2 separate regions of the Homo sapiens genome follow, and region 1 is linked to region 2. Evidence: promoter capture Hi-C in human tissues and cell types (Jung and others, 2019). All regions are on one chromosome and are shown on one strand. The core of a region is centred on a gene start or on the middle of the fragment in contact, and the rest is flanking DNA. Distances in the headings are between cores, read along the strand shown. Region 1 overlaps TROAP-AS1 (TROAP and PRPH antisense RNA 1). Region 2 holds the start of RHEBL1 (RHEB like 1).

Region 1 (2,928 bases), core at 92-2,591, 250 kb after region 2:
TTGGATAGAAAATCAATTATAAGAAAATATTTGCAATGTTTAAAGTGGATATGGGGAGCCAGATGTGGTGGCTCACGCCTGTAATCCCAGCATTTTGGGAGGCTAAGGTGGGCACATCACCTGAGGTTAGAAGTTCAAGACCACTTGGCCATCATGGTGAAACCCCGTCTCTACTAAAAATACAAAAATTATCTGGGCCTGGTGGTGCACACCTGTAGACCCAGAGACTTAGGAAGCTGAGGCAGGAGAATCACTTGAACTCACAGTGAGCCGAGATCGAGCCACTGCACTTCAGCCTGGGCGACAGACCAAGACTCAATAATAATAATAATAATAGGTTGGGCGCGGTGGCTTACGCCTGTAATCCCAACACTTTGGGAGGCCAAGGCGGGCGGATCATCTGAGGTTGGGAGTTCAAGACCAGCCTAACCAACATGGTGAAACCCCATCTCTACTAAAATACAAAAAATTAGCTGGGCATGGTGGCGCACACCTGTAGTCCCAGCTACTCGGAAGGCTGAGGCAGGAGAATTGCTTGAACCCGGGAGGTGGAAGCTGCAGTGAACCGACATCGCGCCACTGCACTCCAGCCTGGCGACAGAGCACGACTCTGTCTCAAAAAATAAATAAATAAATAAATAATAATAATAAATAAATAAATAAAGTGGATATGGGGCTGGGTGCAGTGGCTCACTCCTGTAATACCAGCACTTTAGGAGGCCGAAGCAGGCAGATCATCTGAGGTCAGGAGTTCTAAACCAGCCTGGTCAACATGGCAAAACCCCCCTCTACTAAAAAATATAAAAATTAGCCAGGCGTGGCCAGGCACCATGGCTCATGCCTGTAATCCCAGCACTTTGGGAGACTGAGGTGGGCAGTCACCTGAGGTCAGGAGTTTGAGACCAGCCTGGCCAACATGGTGAAACCCCATCTCTACTAAAAATACAAAAATTAGCCAAGCATGGTGGCGAGCACCTGTAATCTCAGCCACTCGGGAGGCTGAGGCAGGAGAATCGCTGAACCCAGGAGGCAGAGGTTTCAGTGAGCTGAGATCGGGCCACTGAACTCTAGCCTGGGAGACAGAGCAAAACTCTTCCTGAAAAAAAAAAAAAAAAAAAAGAGGTCGGGCGTGGTGGCTCACACCTCTAATCCCAGCACTTTGGGAGGCTGAGCCAGGCGGATCACGAGGTCAGGAGATCGAGACCATCCTGGCCAACATGGTGAAACCCCATCTCTACTACAAATACAAAAATTAGCTGGGCATGGTGGCAGGCACGTGTAATCCCGGCTACTCGGGAGGCTGAGGCAGGAGAATCCCTTGAACCCAGGAGGCAGGGGTTGCAGTGAGCCGAGATTGCGCCACTGCACTCCAGCCTGGTGACAGAGCAAGACTCAGTCTCAAAAAAAAAAAAAGAAGAAGAAGAAAAGAAAATTAGCCAGGCGTGGTGGTGCGTGTCTGTAATCCCAGCTACTTGGGAGGCTGATGCAGGAGAATCACTTGAACCCAGGAGGTAGAGGTTTCAGTGAGCCGACATCAGGCCCCTGTACTCCAGTATGGGTGACAGAGCAAGACTCCATCTCAAAAAGTAATAATAAATAAAATAAAATAAAATAATTTTTAAAAAAGTGAATGTGGGATTAATATTCATAATATAGTGTAATCTTATGAAGGAACAAAAGTAAAGACAGGAATCCAAAATAAAAAAAGCACAAAGGATATGAATAGGCATTTCAGAGAGAAGGAAGCTTTATTGGCTAACAAGAATATGAAATAGCCAGGCGCAGTGGCTCACACCTGTAATCCCAGCACTTTGGGAGGCCAAGGTGGGTGGATCACCTGAGGTCAGGAGTTGGAAACCAGCCTGGCCAACATGGCGAAACCCTGTCTCTATGAAAAATACAAAAATTAGCCAGGGATGGTTGTGGGTGCCTGTAATCCCAGCTACTAGGGGGGCTGAGGCAGGAGGATCGCTTGAACTTGGGAGGCTGACGTTGCAGTGAGCCAAGATCGTGCCACTGCACTCCAGCCTTGGTAACAGAGTGAGACTCCATCTCAAGAAAAAAAAAAAAGAATATGAAGTAACACTCAAACTCACTAGTAATCAGAGAAATGTAATTTTAAATAACTGAGAGTACACTTAATATACCTATTAGAATTGCAAATATTAGAGAGTTGTATAATATTACGTGTTGGAAAGGGTATGAGGTAATAAGAACTTTCAGTAATGATGTTGAGACTGTAAACAGCTACAGACCTGGGTTTTCTTGCTTGGTTTTGTTTTTCAGGGTTTTTTTTAGAGTGTCTCACTGTTATCAAAGCTGGCTTCAAACTCCTGAGCTCAGGCAATCCTCCTACCTCAGCCTTCTAAGAAGCTGGGACTACAAGTGTGTGCCATGCCCGGTTTACAGCTACAGATTTTCTGAAAAATAATCTGGTGCTACTTAGTAAAATTGAGCATGCATATACCTTACCACAGAAATTCCACTCCGAGGAATATGTTCCAGAGAAATTCTTGAACTGGTTCACAGGGGACTATGAAAGAGATAACTGTCTGGCATTGTGTGTAGAAGTCAGGAATGGGTAAGTAAAGTATAATGGATGCCTACCATGGAATCCTATGTAGCAGGTATAAGCAATGAATTAGATTATATGTAGTAATAAGGATGAATCCTGAAAACAGAGTTAATCAAAAAAAGTAAAAGCAGGCTGGCACAGTGGCTGACATCTGTAATCTCAGCACTGTGGGAAGCTGAGGCAGGAGGATGGCTTGAGCCCAGGAGTTTGAGACCAGCCTAGGCAACATAGCAAGACCCCATCTCTATACAAAAAAGTGTATATTAAAAATATATATTTTTTTGAGACAAAGTCTCACTCACTCTTTCTCCCAGCCTAGAGTGCAGTGGCATGATCTCTGCTCACTGCAACCC
Region 2 (2,763 bases), core at 116-2,615:
TTAGTAGAGATGAGGTTTCACCATGTTGGCCAGGTTGGTCTCGAAATCCAGACCTCAATCCATCCGCCCGCCTCAGCTTCCCAAAGTGCTGGGATTACAGGCATGAGCCACTGCGCCCAGCCTCCCCTTACATTCTTAACCTTGGGGGTGACACAGATAGATCAGCTCCAGGGAGTTATCCAGGTAACTGGAAAGACACGCTAAGGTTCTTAATGTCTACATCTAAACTATCCCAGACTCAATATCTTGCAAAATCCATACTCTAGCCATCCATCGAACAGGATTGCTAAAGAAGAAATCAGATGTAATGTCTAAATAAATCAGCCCCTTGGCACCAGAGAAATAAATTATGGAGTTGGGTGGGGTATCCAAGCCCTCCGGGTCGCATACCACCAGCACACTAGGGGAGAAGTCTACTCACTATTCTCCACTGTAGGATCGTAGCCTTCCGAGAACTCGCCTTCCACAAATTGATGTGCCAAAGATGTCTTCCCTGTGGGGAGCAGTGTGACAGTTGTATCCAAATCATCCATCCACATTCACATCCTCTGTCCTTTCGGACTGTGGCCCAGGACCAAAGGAGACCCCAAATTAACACCACAGTCTGTGAGTGCCTCAAGCAATGCTATCCTTTGTGTCTACCCTCACCCTCTTTTCACCCAGGGTCTCCGCACTTTGGCTACCGGATGCATTCAGAAGCGCAGCAGGAAGCCTTTCCCGCCGCCTTCCCCACCCCATCCCACTCGTAGGAAGATCCAAGATTCCCTAGGATCAAGTCCGCCCCGCCCCAGGACACCTGCGACTATCTGTCCCCACGGAGACCGCGTCCCGGTTTTCAAATTGTGACCCCACCCCTATCCCCAAAGTAACGCTGGGACCACTCTGAGATTCCCGCAGCCAGGTCCGCATTAACCCTTAAGTGCTCCCGCTTCCTGCAGCCTCCACACACCACCAACTCTTCCAATCCTCCACTCTTCCATTCCTCCACTCTTCCAATCCTCGCTCTACAACCCCATCCTTACGATGTCATCATTCCTCCCTGGGTCGCGTTCCCACGGCAGCGCGCCTCTTCTGGCTACAAAGCTGCTGCGCGTCCGAGCTCTGCAGGGCGGAGACTCACCTACACAGCGGTATCCGAGGATGACCACCTTCCTGTAGCGGACTAGCGGCATGGCAGGAGCCCGCCCCAGGGGCTTGCGGAACTGCGGGCTCAGAGAGCCCGAAAACGAGGTCAGGGTGTGAGCAGGCGCGGCAGCTGGTGCAGGAAAGTCGCTCACCCCGAAGCTGCCGTGGGCAAGTTAGAAGGAAACCAAAACAAGCGCCGCGCCCGGAGCTGCCCACGTGATCACAACACAGCACGTCTAACGCCAGGGAGCCGGGCGCCCGGGGAACTACTGAGCCGCGCCGCGCCGGGCTCCGCCCCCCAGGCCGCTCGCCATTGGTCCATTAGAATGGGTAAGGGCGGTGCCGCCAGCAGGAGGGAAGGGTGGGCCTCACGTGGAGCGGGAGAACTGGGAGCTGCGCGTGCGCAGACTGGAGCCGGTTCATTCATAAAGAAACAGAAAGGAACCCGGGGTCCTAAAGGCGTTTGCGCATTTACAGCCTAGCTGAAGTGGCTTCGAAGAATTATGGATGGAAAATACCCGTTTTGTGGTTTCCGGTCATAAGATTCTAGCCCTCCCTTTTGCATGGTCTCTGGGGTCCTTAGATAGGGAGAAAACCGCCAAAGTTCTAGTATATTCCTTCTGCTTCCCCCAGCCTTCAGCCCCAGACCTATCAAGGTTTCCAGTCTTCCAGCATCTAATTTCAAACTGCAATTCTTATTCTTGCAGAAATTGCTAGAATTTATGATCAAGTAGTCTGAGGTTTCTTCTTCATCATCATGATCCTCAAATATTCATTTTTCAACAAATACTGAGTATATACTACATGTTTCAGGCATTGCTCCAGCTTTGGGGTCAGAACATGGACATCACAGACAATGTGTCTGCTCTTATGAAGGGAGAAACAAACATACAACAAGGAAATATCAGAGAGTGTTAAGTGCTGTAGAAGATGGTGTGATGAAAGATGACCACTTTATTTTTTTTATTTTTTTATTTTTATTTTTATTTTTTTTGAGACGGAATCTCGCTCTTTCTACCAGGCCGGAGGGCAGTGGCTCTATCTCGGCTCACTGCAAGCTCCGCCTCCCGGGTTCACGCCATTTTCCTGCCTCAGCCTCCAGAGTAGCTGGGACTACAGGCGCCCGCCACCGCGCCCGGCTAATTTTTTGTATTTTTAGTAGAGACGGGGTTTCACCGTGTTAGCCAGCATGGCCTCCATCTCCTGACCTCGTGATCCGCCCGCCTCGGCCTCCCAAAGTGATGGGATTACAGGCGTGAGCCACCGCGCCCGGCCGACCACTTTATTTTTTAAAGACAATACAGCATTTTTAATTTTTTTTCTTTATTTATTTTGAGACAGGGTTATGAGACTGGCTAATTTTTGTATTTTGGGGAGAGATGGGGTTTTGCTATGTTGCCCAGGCTGGTCTCGAACGCCTAGCCTCAAGTGATCCACCTGACCCGGCCTCCCAAAGTGCTGGGATTACAGACGTGAGCCACCGAGCCTGGCTGAGATGACCACTTTAGTGATACTTTCTCTCATAGGAAACCCCATTTAAACTAAGATCTGAAGGAACCAACTAGGAGATTTCACAAGAAGAATCCACCAATGCTAAGGCGTTAAGATGGAAATAAATTGGGTAAATTCCAGGAAGAG

What was found. The method cuts DNA at HindIII sites, captures the fragments that hold promoters and counts their contacts. A contact is called where the count stands out against the background at its distance.
Region 1: a contact is called between a fragment that was not itself captured here and the fragment with the promoter of RHEBL1 in region 2, in 1 of the 25 tissues and cell types used here (spleen).

Annotation. Positions count from the first base shown.
Region 1 is chr12:49,316,675-49,319,602 of GRCh38, forward strand. The region is part of intron 2 of TROAP-AS1 (TROAP and PRPH antisense RNA 1); the gene reads right to left. Among named protein-coding and RNA genes, the nearest start is that of TROAP, 5.1 kb to the right of the region's middle. The HindIII fragment of the contact is 5,248 bases long and covers 1-2,928 here.
Region 2 is chr12:49,068,614-49,071,376 of GRCh38, forward strand. RHEBL1 (RHEB like 1) reads right to left here and starts at 1,366. Exons shown (of 8, transcript NM_144593.3): 1 at 1,121-1,366; 2 at 422-493. The coding sequence starts at 1,172. RefSeq lists enhancers at 1,080-1,389, 1,760-1,809 and a silencer at 1,410-1,529. The HindIII fragment of the contact is 9,146 bases long and covers 1-2,763 here.